Regions from separate parts of the Homo sapiens genome. Here region 1 is linked to region 2. The links are contacts of gene promoters, found by promoter capture Hi-C in human tissues and cell types (Jung and others, 2019). All regions are on one chromosome and are shown on one strand. Each heading gives the region's core, a stretch centred on a gene start or on the middle of the fragment in contact. The rest is flanking DNA. Distances are from core to core; before and after follow the strand shown. Region 1 holds the start of DCAKD (dephospho-CoA kinase domain containing). Region 2 holds the start of CCDC43 (coiled-coil domain containing 43).

What was found. The method cuts DNA at HindIII sites, captures the fragments that hold promoters and counts their contacts. A contact is called where the count stands out against the background at its distance.
Region 1: a contact is called between the fragment with the promoter of DCAKD here and the fragment with the promoter of CCDC43 in region 2, in 1 of the 25 tissues and cell types used here (dorsolateral prefrontal cortex).

What each region holds. Positions count from the first base shown.
Region 1 is chr17:45,046,068-45,052,934 of GRCh38, reverse strand. DCAKD (dephospho-CoA kinase domain containing) reads left to right here and starts at 1,303. Exons shown (of 5, transcript NM_001288655.2): 1 at 1,303-1,574. RefSeq lists a silencer at 1,163-1,662 and enhancers at 4,748-5,278, 5,279-5,811. The HindIII fragment of the contact is 12,750 bases long and covers 1-6,867 here.
Region 2 is chr17:44,686,485-44,693,622 of GRCh38, reverse strand. It overlaps CCDC43 (coiled-coil domain containing 43), which reads left to right and starts at 3,847. Exons shown (of 5, transcript NM_144609.3): 1 at 3,847-4,073. The coding sequence starts at 3,870. LOC105371792 (a long non-coding RNA gene) reads right to left here. Exons shown (of 4, transcript XR_007065769.1): 2 at 5,600-5,769; 3 at 5,330-5,445; 4 at 4,610-4,682. It overlaps LOC124904010 (a long non-coding RNA gene), which reads right to left and starts at 3,842. Exons shown (of 2, transcript XR_007065770.1): 1 at 3,769-3,842; 2 at 3,313-3,628. RefSeq lists enhancers at 3,717-3,856, 3,525-4,114. The HindIII fragment of the contact is 3,238 bases long and covers 2,108-5,345 here.

The sequences.
Region 1 (6,867 bases), core at 54-2,553, 360 kb before region 2:
GCCTTGGCCTCCCAAAGTGCTGGGATTACAGGCGTGAGCCACAGCGCCCGGCCTAGATGCTTTATTTTTTTTGAGGCAAGGTCTCGTTTTGTTGCCCAGGCTGGAGTGCAGTGGTACCATCATGGCTCTCTGCAGCCTTGACCTCCTGGGCTCAAGCCATCCTCCTGCCTCAGCCTCCCGAGTAAATGAGACCACACTGTCACCATGCCTGGCTAGTTTGTTTTTTGTTTTTTTTTTTTGTAGAGATCGGGGGTTAGTCTCACTCTTGTTTAGGCTGGTCTCGAACTCCTGGGCTCAAGTGATCCTCCCAAAGTGCTGAGATTACAGGTGTGAGCCACCGTGCCCGGCTTTTATGTATTCTTTCAACAACGCTGCACGGCTGCGATTATCCCCACTTTGAGAGGAGACAGGATGAGAGGCTGAGTGGCTTGCTAGGCTTGTATGGACAGGATGCGGGCTCTGCAATCACATGACTTTGTATGAGAGGGCAAATGGATTAACCGCTAAACATAGTTTCCTGTTGTGTAAAATGGGGATGATGATAGTATCCACCCTGCGGACTGTGCGGGCTGAGATAATCCCACAAAGTGCTCTTAGGACCTGGCAGGTGGAAAGTGCTCATGATCACCTCTGCCAAGGCTGCACAAGTAGCGAGTGGCCGAGCTTTATATCCGAAGTTAGGACCCTGCAGTTTTGCCCCTCTCCTCTCTCTCCCTCTCCTTCCCGGCTCCGGGGAAAGGAAAATTTATGGCTCCGGGTCGGGGGTTGCGGGGGACCTCTGTGCCGTGCTCCGGGGCCGAGCTCTCCCCGCCGGCCTCTCCCGCGTCCGTCCGGCCGCCCTCCCGCCCAACCTCTCCCGCCCAACCTCTCCCGCGTCCGCCCGCCCGCCCAACCTCTCCCGCGTCCGCCCGCCCGCCCAACCTCTCCCGCGTCCGCCCGCCCGCCCAACCTCTCCCGCGTCCGCCCGCCCGCCCAACCTCTCCCGCGTCCGCCCGCCCGCCCAACCTCTCCCGCGTCCGCCCGCCCGCCCAACCTCTCCCGCGTCCGCCCGCCCGCCCAACCTCTCCCGGCCCCGCCCGCCCGCCCGCCCAACCTCTCCCGGCCCCGCCCGCCCGCCCGCCCAACCTCTCCCGGCCCCGCCCGCCCGCCCGCCCAACCTCTCCCGGCCCCGCCCGCCCGCCCGCCCAACCTCTCCCGGCCCCGCCCGCCCACCCAACCTCTCCCGGCCCCGCCCGTCCAACCTCTCCCGGCCCCGCCTGCTGGCCGGACGTCCGGTCTGCAGGCGCGCGCTCCCGAGGTCCCGCCTCGCCCGCTGAGCCGGCCTGTAAGCGCTGCGGAGATTGGGCTAGAGGCGGAGGCCTGGGCCACGGCGGAGGCGCTGGGTACGTAGCGCGCCACGCGGGCCGGTGAGAGCCAGCCGGGCGCCGGGGAGGGGGCGGGCCCTGGCCGCGGCTGCTACGCGGGGCTGCCACCGCCCCGGGCGACCCAATTTCGCGGCCTAGTGGGGCGTACGGGCCTCTTTTGAAAGCCTGAGTTACGATGTATTGAGCGCGTCGTATGCGGCCAGCACTAAGGCAAGTGCTTTTATATCCACGGCCCATTGTCTTGACAGCAACCCTACCAAGCAACGTGTTATTTCCTCTGTTTTACGGCTGAGGACGCGCAGGAAGGTTTACAGCTAGAAAGGGCTGGAGATTGTGGATTCAAACTCAGGATCAGACCAAAGCCACTGCCCTTTAGAACTTTGCGGGCCGATTGATTCTTGAATCTAGCTTCTGCCACTTCAGTTGTGTGACCTTGGGGTATCTTTCCGATCCCAAGTTTGCTCATCTGAAAAATGGGAATAAAGCTACAGTATCTGTCCCATAGGGTGGGTATAAAGTGCTTTACTGTTGAGCTGAGTGATCATCTCCGATTTTCAGACCCCTCTCCTCCGCTTCCCTCTCCCCTGGGAGGCCAGTTAAGGTTTTAGTGAAGGCCCCCGGGACTGGGGCGGCGTGGATCTCACGCCCACCAACTAGTGAGGGAGGCCATCCGGCCACCCGTCTCTTCCTTCCCCAGCTCCGCAAAGGAGGCGTTGGCATTTCAGGTGTTTGCTTACAGAGTTTTCAAAGATTTTTCACTCTCCCTTAGTTGTGGGAAAATGATTCAACCTACCCAAGTGAACTTTGACATTAAGTCTCAATTCTAACGGTGAGGAAATGGAAGCCTTTGAATATGTTTTATGTCTTAAACGTGTTTGTTTTTGCAGGAGGGAGAGTGCTCATTTTACCTGAATAAATCAAGATTGAGTTGGTGTGGCACAGTGCTGGCATAGGCCTGGGGAAAGGGGTGAAATGCTAGAGATCTGGTAGATGGATAGAAAGTGGACAGACGGGTTCGGGTGGTTTTTGTCTCAGCAGGGCCCTAAATTCCCACCAAATCCTCCTCTGTCTGTCTTCACCAAGGTCTGAATCTGTCCCCTTGGTAAATAACGTTTAAATGGTCTCCGAGCCCCTCTTGGTGCCTGTACCTTAAGGAGAGAAGAAGAGGGCTGATAGCTGAAGGCAGGCAAGCCACGAACTTAGCTTTGTTTTGAAAATTACCCTCTGGGCCGGGCACGGTGGCTCACGCCTGTAATCCCAGCGCTTTGGTAGGTTGAGGAGGGTGGATCACCCGAGGTTAGGAGTTCGAGACCAGCCTGGTCAACATGGTGAAACCCCCGTGTCAACTAAAAATGCAAAAAAATTAGCCGGACATGGTGGTGCATGCCTGTAGTCCCAGCTACTCGGGAGGCTGAGGCAGAAAAATCGCTTGAACCCGGGAGGCTGAGGTTGCAGTGAGCCGAGATCGTGCCACTGCACTCCAGCCTGGGCAAGAGAGTGAGACTCCTTCTCAAAAGAAAGAAAGAAAGAAAAAATTACCTGCTGGGAGGCCGAGCGCGGTGGCTCACGCCTGGTAATCCCAGTATTTTGGGAGGCTGAGGCAGGCAGATCACCTGAGGTCAGGAGTTTGAGACCAGCCTGGCCAACATGGTGAAACTCCATCTCTACTAAAAATACAAAAAAATTAGCTGGGTGTGGTGGCGGGTGCCTGCAATCCCAGCTACTCAGGAGGTCGAGGTAGGAGAATCACTTGAACTCAGGAAGCAGAGGTTGCAGTGAGCTGAGATCGTGCCACTGCACTCCAGCCTGGGTGACAAGAGCAAGACTCTGTTTCAAAAAAAAAAAAAAAAAAAAAAAGGAAAAGAAAAAGAAAATTACCTGCTGGCACAGTTTTAGATTGATAGCTTTAGATTGAAACTTTCACATTTTTATTTTGAAGATTACAGAGGATAAAAGTTCTGGTTAATTGTGAATGTTGATATTTTAAAATAAAGCTGTTAAAATCCTCATTTAAACCTGCAGTGAAGTCTAAATATACACCATTTGATTTGATTTCCCTCATCTTTTGAAAAAAAAAAAAAGAACCACTTTTTATTTAACCATCGAAATTTCAAATCGTTCTTTTTTTCCTTTATTTTTTCCGAGATGGGATCTTGCTCTGTTGCTCAAGCTGGAGTGCAGTGGCAGTCACTGGTTACTGCACCCTTGACCTGCTGAGCTCAATCCTCCCACCTTAGCCACCAAAGTAACTAAGAGTACGGGTGTCTGTCACCACATATGGCTGATTTTTCTTTTTATTTTTAGTAGAGACGAGGTCTTGCTATGTTGCCCCGGCTGACTCCTGGTCTCAAGTGATCCTTGCATCTCAGCCTCCAAAAGTGCTGGGATTAGAGGTGTAAGCCACCATGCTTGGCCCTTTTTCCTTCTTGAACTCATATTTCCACTTTGTTTCCTCACAGAAGTTTTTTCTAATGTAATAGTTTTTGTTTTTTTGAGACAGGGTCTCTGTCACCCAGGCTGTAGTGCAGTGGCGGGATCACAGCTCACTGCAGCCTTGACCTCTTGGGCTCAAGCAATACTCCCACCTTAGCTTCCCCAGTAGCTGGGACTGCAGGCTTTCGCCACCATGCTCAGCCAATTTTTTTTTTCCAAATGAAAGCAAGATTATTAGGAAAATAATGGAATAAAGAATGGCTACACCATAGGCAGAACAGCCCTTGTGCTGCTGGTTGGCTATTTTTATGGTTCTTTCTTTCTTTTTGAGACAGAGTCTGTCTCACTCTGTCACCCAGGCTGGAGTGCAGTGGCGCAGTCTTGGCTCACTGCAGCCTCTACCTCCTAGGTTCAAATGCTTCTCAAGCCTCAGCCTCCTGAGTAGCTGGGATTACAGGTGCATGCCACCACGCCTGGCTAATTTTTGTTTTGTTTTTCTTTGAGATGGAGTCTCGCTCTGTCACCCAGGCTGGAGTGCAGTGGCACGATCTCGGCTTACTGCAACGTCTGCCTCCCGGTTTCAAGCGATTCTTCTGCCTCAGCCTCCTGAGTAGCTGGGACTATGGGCATGTACCACCATGCCTGGCTATTTTTGTATTTTTAGTAGAGACGGGGTTTCACCATATTGGCCAGGCAGGTCTCAAACTCCTGACCTCGTGATCCGCCCTCGGCCTCCCAAAGTGCTGGGATTACAGGCATGAGCCAACATGCCTGGCCTAATTTTTGTATTATTAGTAGAGATGGGCTTTTGCCATATTGGCCAGGCAGGCTGGTCTCAAACTCCTGGCCTCAAGTGATCTGCCTCCCAGAGTGCTGGGATTCCAGCTAATTTTTTTTTTTTTCCATTTTTTTGTAGAGACAGAGTCTCACTATGTTGCCCAGGCTGGTCTTGAACTCCTGGCCTCAAGTGATCCTCCTGCCTTGACTTCCCAAAGTGCTGGGATTATATGCATGAGATACTGTGCCTGACCATGTAATAATACATTTTATGCCTGAAAGCCTTTGGTTTATCATATTTCTCTGCAACAAAAATACATACAAAATTAAAACTTTTTTAAAATTGTGTTATCATGAGTATTAAATGTTTCTTTTGGATTGAGTTGTCACAATTATAAAATACACAATTGATAAAAACAATGTTAACAAAGTTTTATTTGAGTATTTCTCTTAATAAGCTAAGTGGGCCGGGTGTGGTGGCTTATGCTTGTAGTCTCAACATTTTGGGAGGCCAAAGCAGGCAGATTACTTGAGCTCAGGTGTTTGAGACTAGCCAGGGGCCAGACGCGGTGGCTCACGCCTGTAAACCCAGCACTTTGGGAGGCCAAGGTGGGCGGATCACAAGGTCACAAGTTCAAGACCAGCCTGACCAACATGCCGAAACCCCGTCTGTACTAAAGATACAAAAATTAGCTGGGTGTGGTGGCGTGTGCCTGTAATCCCAGCTACTGGGGAGGCTGAGGCAGGAGAATCATTTGAACCGGGAGCCGGAGGTTGCAGTGAGCCAAGATCGCGCCACTGCATTCCAGCCTGGGCAACAGGGTGAGACTCCATCTCAAAAAAAAAAAAAAAAAAAGAGACTAGCCAGGGCAACCCAGCAAAACCTCATCTCTACAAAAAATTTTTAAAAATTAGCCGGGCGTGTTGGTGCATGCCTGTAGTCCCAGCTACTTGGGAGGCTGAAGTGGCAGGATCACCTGAGCCTAGGAGGGTTGAAACTTCACTGAGCTGTGATCACACCACTGCATTCCAGCCTAGACAATGGAGTAAGACTCTGCCTCGAAAAAAATAAGCTGGGTGGAGCTTTTTAAACCTCATGTATCTATCCATGTTTATTTGTATATTTACTAGAGTGAGCAGAGTGCTTTTTTTTTTCTTTGGCTGTAACCATTGAAAAAGTTTCTTCATGTAAATTAAATACACAGGAGTTGAAGGCTTTTTTTTTTTTTCAGCAATATCACTCAGTTCTTTGAACACCTTCTGAATTATGGGCCGAAAAATCACATTGAATTATTAATAATCTGTCAGTCCACAGTTCTTTTAGGTCCTCCTTTAACTTTCTTGAAGGCCAAGGTTTAGAAACCACCTGACTCATGCAAGGATTTGTTCCTTAGTCACTGTAGGCAGTCACTTTCTTAGCATGAATACTGACCTTTTGAATTGCCCTTTCTGGTGCCCAGGGGATTTTCACCCTGTGGGACCGTGCACCTCACCTCAGTATGATTTAGCATGGGTGGATGGTTATGCCTTTCTCTGAAACATGGGAGATGGGTGAGTGTGAAGGAGGAGCTGGGTAGGAGAGCCAGTGGGAATTGAGTTGGAAATTTATGACGCTGAAACTCTACCTTTGTGCCTCTCAGAAAATCTTCACGCATCACCTAAGTGTTCTCATTCTCCTGTGTGTAGGCCACCTGGCACTACCGTGGGCAAACATAGAGCTGCTTTTTTTTTTTTTTTTTTTTTTTGAGATGGAATCTCGCTCTGTCGCCCAGGCTGGAATGCAATGGCACGATCTCGGCTCACTGCAACCTCCACCTCCCAGGTTTAAGCGATTCTTCTTCCTCAGCCTCCCGAGTAGCTGGGACTACAGGCACGCACCACCACGCCTGGCTAATTTTTGTATTTTTAGTAGAGATGGGGTTTCACCATATTGGCCAGGCTGGTCTCAAATTCCTGACCTCGTGATCAGCCCTCCTTGGCCTCCCAAAGTGCTGGGATTACAGGCAGGCGTGAGCCGCCGTGCCCAGCCAGAACTTCTTTTAACTTCCATTTCCTCACTTTGAGAAAGTGCTGCTCTTACACTCTAGTTCCGCCTGCTGGGAAGCTCACCTTCCTAGGCACTCTCTCCCACATTTTCCTCATCTTTTAGCCCAATATATTGTCAGTCCAGGAATGTGGAGGTGGGAAGTAATGTGGAAAGGTTTTGTGATTCTCATTTTAAAATAGTTGATGTTGCCAGGCACAGTGGCTCACGCCTGTAATCCTAGCACTTGTGGGAGGCCGAGGCAAGCGG
Region 2 (7,138 bases), core at 2,598-5,097:
AAAGATAAAAATAAATGAATAACTTATGAACAAATTCCCAGAAGCAGAAATGCTGGGTCTTTTCAAACAAACAGTCCTCCAACAAGACCAGATCCATTTACTTTCTGCTCTAACATTTTCCAATGTCTTTTACCCAAGCACAGTTCAATACAGCATATTATCAGACTTTTTTGATCTGAAAAGCGGACGTGGTATTTCACTGCAATCTTAATTTGCGTATTTTATTTTTTGTAAGCTTTCAATTTGTCGCTTATCCATTTATATAATTTTTTCTTTTTTTTTGTTGAGACAGAGTTTTGCCCTTGTTGCCCAGGTTGGAGTACAATGGCGTAATCTCAGCTCACTGTAACCTCCGCCTCCTGGTTTCAAGCAATTCTCCTGCCTCAGCCTCCCAAGTAACTGGGATTACATGCGCCTACCACCATAGCTGGCTAATTTTTTTGTTTTTTTTGTTTTTTTTTGAGATGGAGTCTCACTCTGTTGCCCAGGCTGGAGAGCAGTGGTCAGATCTCGGCTCACTGCAAGCTCTGCCTCCCGGATTCGCGCCATTCTCCTGCTTCAGCCTCCCTAGTAGCTGGGACTATAGGCGCCCGCAACCACACCCAGTTAATTTTTTTTTGTATTTTTAGTAGAGACGGGGTTTCACCTATTATCCAGGATGGTCTCGATCTCCTGACCTCGTGATCTGCCCGCCTCGGCCTCCCAAAGTGCTGGGATTACAGGTGTGAGCCACCGCGCAGGGCCATTTTTTTGTATTTTTTTAGTAGAGATGGGGTTTCACCAGTTGGCCAGGCTGGTCTCGAACTCCCGACCTCAGTTGATCTACCCGCGTTGGCCTTCCAAAGTGCTGGGATTACAGGCGTGAGCCACCGTGCTTGGCCTTATATAATATTTTTTAAAGCATGAGCTATGTTACTTTTGTAGTAAAATAGCCATTGAGGATATTCTTAAAATTTAGGGTCTGGAGAACCTTGATTCAGTTTTTGAGAAGCTTGTTGATGCTTTCAAAAAACCTTATTGCATTATGGCCAGGAGCAGTGTCTCATGCCTGTAATCCCAGCGCTTTGGGATGCCGAAGCAGGTGCATCACCTGAGATCAGCAGTTTGAGACCAGCTTGGCCAACATGGCAAAACCCTATCTCTACTAAAAATAGGAAAAAAATTAGCCGGGTGTGGTGCTGGGTGCCTGTAATCCCAGCTACATGGAAGGGTGAGGCAGGAGAATTGCTTGAACCCAGGAGACGGAGGTTGTAGTGAGCTGAGATCATACCACTGCACTCCAGTCTGGACGACAACCGTGAGACTCCACCTCAAAACAAAAACCAAAAAAACCTTATTGCATAATACCTATATCAATTTCCTGATTTACTATTATACTGTCTTTATGTTTGATGTTACTATTGGGGGAAACTGGGTGAAGGTGTGCAGGACTCTATGTACTATTTTTGAAACTTCTTGTGAGGCTGTATTTCTAAAAAACAAAATTTTGTGATGTTTTTCTGGTTTGGGGGCTCTGCACTGACCAGCTATCATCCTTGAGCCATGATGGCACCCAGGTCTGTGAACTGACAAGCCCTACCTGCAAGACAGCTACTAGATTAGAAAGAATAACTGAGGACTTGAAAAAGAGGCAAGCCTTTGGAGGCTGACTCTGGCCTCTGACTCTGTTAGTGTCACATTCTATCTAACTCAGCGAGCACACAGAAGCCACGCAACTAAAATTCACACTCTGCCATATTTCTTACATTTGTATCTGTGCCATTCATTTAGTGTCCATTCATTTACATAATCCCAATGCCACTAAGGGTAGACCTCTGCAATAAGAGGACCTCTGCAAGGTATACAAACTCCTTTCCTTCTTTTTTTGTTGTTATCCCCTGAATATCTTCTATTTGAATCCTGTAGCTCAAGCCATACATGACTCTCTGGAGGCCCCCTAGCAAGCCTTTGAATTCACAGTTCCCCTGCATCTGGATCTACCCCCTTTTTCCCTCCAGTCCCTTTATGTAAAGAACTCCTACCATTCTTCAAGAAAGTTCAAGCATCATCTCCACTGGGAAGCCTTCCTGGATTTCCTATGAACCTCTCCCCACCTGCTTCCAACTCCACTCCAACAGGTAAAGTTAACTCAATCTTCTAGGCATCCTACTGCAATCTCCGCTAGATAAAGCTCCATTAAAACATTTATATCACTATATTGTCATCATTTGTTTAAACATGTCTGTTCCTAATGGATTAAAAACCCCTGAGGACATATATTTTGTGACATTCATTTTTGTGTTTTCAGTGCCAGCAACAATGCCATACTGAAGGTACTCAGTACATATTTGAGGAAGGAGTTAGCCAGGACCTTGCCAGCTTCCTCTGCACTTCAGCTAAAGCCAACCAAATTCTTGGGTAATTCATTCCAGCCCAGAGCCAGGTGTTTTGACGTCAGCTGAAGCTCTCATAACTCTGCCAAAGAAGAGTTCTTGCCACTGGTTAGGCGCCCTCTAGTTGTGTGACTCTCTCCATATCTGTCTCCTTATCTTTAGTGATTTTGTTTGTTCGTTTGTTTGTTTGTTTTTGAGATGGAGTCTCACTGTCGCTCAGGCTGGAGTGCAGCGGCGCGATCTTGGCTCACTGCAACCTCCGCCTTCCGGGTTCCAGCGATTCTGAGTAGCTGGGATTACAGGCCCGCGCCACCACACCTGGCTTTTGTTGTTGTTGTTGTTTGTTTTGAGACGGAATTTCGCTCTTGTTGCCCAGGCTGGAGTGCAATGGCACGATCTCTGCTCACCGCAACCTCCGCCTCCTGGGTTCAAGCGATTCTCCTGCCTCAGCCTCCCACGTAGCTGGGATTACAGGCATGTCCCACCACGCCCGGCTAATTTTGTATTTTTAGTAGAGACGGGGGTTCTCCATTTTGGTCAGGCTAGTCTCGAACTCCAGACCTCAGGTGAGCTGCCCACTTTGGCCTTCCAAAGTGCTGGGATTACGGGAGTGAGCCACCGTGCCCGGCCTTATTTTTGTATTTTTACTAGAGACGGGGTTTCACCATGTCGGCCAGGCTGGTCTCGAACTCCTGACCTCAGGTGATCCACCCGCCTCGGCTTCCCAAACTGTTGGGATTACAGGCGTGAGACATGGCGCCCGGCCTGTCTCCTTATCTTTAAAATGTGGACAATAAAAGCATCTCCCCACAGGGCTGTAGGGAGGATTACAAGAGATAATGCATGAAAAGCTTTTGGCACAGTGCCTAGCAGAGGGTGGGGTACGCTTCTCAAAGAATAGTCCCGTGCACGCGTTGAATCAATGAGTGGAAGAAATAACTTGAGGTTGCCTGTTTATTTACTGAGTGCCTACCATGGAATCAGGGAAGGTTTTCTGCAACCTTTACTTTGACAGGGAAGGGCTTGTACAGGTGAAGGTGGTAGCCGTCGGTAGCGACGACGAGGGTATTCCAGGCTGTCAGGAGGTTCTTGCCAGACAGCTGTGTGGGAGTGGGCGGCCAGCATCCCCCGAAAGCGCGGGGAAGGCAGCTCGGTCGGGTGGAGGAAGCGATGGCATCCACGCTGAGCTCCAGTCCTGGGTAGTTATTAGCCGCGTGACTTTGGCCAAATTACTGCACCTCTCTCAACTTCCCGAACTGTAGAATGAGTCTGTTAAGAATACTCACATGCCAAGCATCTTGTGAGATCACGCGACCGCACGTATGCGAAGACGCGCTTCATCTAGAAAGCACAAAACTCTCAAGCCGGCCGACACGGCTGCGCTCTTTGCACTTACGGGCCTGGGCTTCCTCTTCAGGCATGCGCGGTGGACCTGCGGCGCGGCCCGTCAGGCACTGCGGTAGGCGCCCTAGGGGCTTGCAGGACCCTGACCCCAAGATGGCGGCGCCCAGCGAAGTGGCCGCGATAGCCCCTGGCGAAGGCGATGGCGGAGGCGGCGGCTTTGGCTCCTGGCTGGACGGACGGTTGGAGGCACTGGGAGTGGACCGAGCCGTTTATGGAGCCTACATCTTGGGTATCCTGCAGGAGGAGGAGGAAGAAGAGAAGCTGGACGCTCTGCAGGGGATCCTCTCTGCTTTCCTGGTGAGTAGCCTGGACACATTCCTTCAGCCTCTGGCCAGCATCTGAGGACCTGTCAGTACTTTGCACCCTCCCTCCCCTACCGGGTATCCCAGAGGCTCAGTGGTCTCACCTGGGAGAGGTATACTCCTCTGATATCTGGGCGGCGGGGGAAGGAGGTTGCTCCCCAACCAGGTGTGGGAAGCCTGAAAGCTGCAGGTACACAGAGAGGAAGGGCTTTCTCGTATTCTTGGGGACAAGGCCCTCTCCGATGCTTGTGAGTGAGCCGAGGAGGGTTCTTCCGAAGGCATTGAAATGTCAGAATGGGAATGTTATCATAAATATCTGACGACCAATTCCATTTCCATCCGTTTACAGTGTTCACTGGGGGTATTAAAATGCTCTTGGGAGGTCTGTGCCTATTACAAGGCAGTTCCCAGGGCTGTCCCATGACAGAAGCCTGCAGGAAGTGCCCTTTTGATTCTTATATGGATGTAGGAGTCCATAAAAGGTAAGCTGGTGGTAGAAGTCTTTTCATGCCCACGCAGAACTGAAGCAAACGTCGTGCTTGATCCATTACAGTATTTACAGTAATCATTGGTGGTGGGAAGGAGGGTATGAGAGAGATCAGAGCTTTAACGAAGAGAGAGAAACTTAGTCCTTAGCCTGTTAGAAGCAAGGTATTCAGAAATGTGTACTTTAAGCTATGTTTACATAGTAAGTCACCCAGATGTCCACTTTTTCAACCTGATCATTTCTGCTGCCTTCATCTTCACTTCCCACACCTCCAACATACACACTTATTAGACTGGTTATTACAGATTAAATTGGTTGTAGGTGCTACCTGTGGCTGTCTAACAAATTGTTTCCTTTTAAATACAAGCTTAAAAATAAAATTTACTTGAATCATCACTAAATGCTGTAGAAGCTAGAGTTGTCTCTGCATTCATGGATTAGAGGAGATCCTGGATACCTGATTGCTACTGTGAGAGCCACCTGTCTGTCCATCAAAGGCTTTATCCTCTGGCATTTATTACAATGGACAGGTTAGAAAAATGGGTTCTTTGTTATTCTCAAAACCAATTTTGAAAGGCTAGTAATAGAATCAAAATGTACCATGAGGTGGGGCACAGTGGCTCATGTTTGTAATCTCACCACTTTGGGAGGCTGAGGTGGGAGGATTGCTTGAGGCCAAGAGTTCCACACCACACTGGGCAACATAGCAAGACCCTGTCTCTACAAAAAAATTTAAAAAATTAGCCAGGTATGGTGGCGCATACCTGTAGTCCCAGCTACTCAGAAGTCTGAAGTGGGAGGATCACTTGAGCCTAGGAGGCTGTGGCTGCAGTGAGCCGTGATTGTGCCACTGCACTCCAGCTTGGGTGACAGAGTGACCCTGTCTCAAAGAAAAAAAAATTAGTATAAATATATATAGATATAAATGTACATATTCATATCTCATTTTTTTAAAAGGGTAGAAGGCAGAAACATTTTCAAATCCAAAAGTGTTTTGTGAAAGCGGAAACAAGTGCTAGGAAAAAATCACTCACATTTGGTGGAAGCAGTTCATAGATTGGGTACATGGTTGAAATATAACACTAGTGCAGCTGTCCCAGATTCTTCTGGCAGTAACCCATTTGAGTTCCAGAGCCTCTTCTGGCAAGATTGGCTTATAAATGGGAAAACTTTAACACAGCCTGTGAGGAAGCTTGGAAGTTCACTGGAAATACAAGACAGTGGAATCAATTCTTTTTTTGGACCACAACATTACAGATTATAGGGAGAAAGAGTAGGAGGCAAGCAATTTAAGGTAGTTTTTATTTACAGCTGGGAAGTTTCTAAACACTCCATGAAGCTGTTGAAATAACTTTGAGACTTCTTGGTACCAGCTTCTTGATCAGTCCATCATTATTTGGAGCTGTTTCTGTTGATAAAGGTAGACATTAGTTTGCCTTTTTTTTTTTTTAAGAGAGTCTCGCTCTGTTATAGTAATGTGATCATAACTCACTGTAGCCTTGAACGACTGGACTCAAGCAATCCCCTCTCATCAGCCTCCCAAGTAGCTAGGACTACAGGCACCTGCCATCACATATCATGCCTGGCTAACTTTTTTTTTTATGTTTTATGTTTTATTTTTTGAGACAAAGTCTCACTCTGTCACCCAGGCTGGAGTGCAGTAGCAAAATCTCGGCTCACTGTAACCTCTGCCTCCTGGGTTCAGGTGATTCTCAGCCTCCCGAGTAGCTGGGATTACAGGCATATGCCACCATGCCTGGCTAATTTTTATATTTTTAGTAGAGATGGGGTTTCACCATGTTGACCAGGCTGGTCTCAAACTCCTGACCTCAAGTGATCCACCCATCTCAGTCTCTCAAAGTGCTGGGGCTATAGGCGTGAGCCACCACACCCAGCCATGCCTGGCTAATTAAAAAAAAAAAATTTTTTTTTGTAGAGACAGGGTTTTGCCATGTTGCTCAGGGTGGTCTTATGCTCCTGGGCTCAAGACATCCTCCTGCCTTGGCCTCCCAAAGTGCTGAGATTACAGATGTGAGCCTCTGTGCCTGACTTGGGCTAGGATTTAATATGAGGAATTTAGAAGTTTGTTAGCAATAATCTGAGGTAAAATTCAAGAACAGTGGCATATAGTTAGGAGCAAATAACAGTAAACAAAAACTTTTATCATCCTTCTCTTCAATAGTACTTGCATTGGTTGATTGATTTATCAAATTTTTATTGATGGATTACCGTATGCCAGGCACTACCCTAAGTGCTTGGGGCACTTCAAAGAATAAAACAGATAGAAATTCCTGCCCTCATGCGGTTACATTCTAGCATGGAAAAGCATCACTAGTAAATTATATAGTATGTTACAAAGTGATAAGTGCCAGGGAAAAAGGAGCATTGTAAGTAGGATAAACTTTCCTCTTAGTGCCTTGAACATAGCAGGCACCTTCTGTATAAATAAATGAAGGAATGGATGATTGAACTACATTGATTTGGATGAGGAGACTGAGGAAATAAACCACTTTGTCCTCTTAAGAGTTCCCGTTCTCTTTTGCCTCTCTGCTGCTCCTTTTCCTGCCATTCTT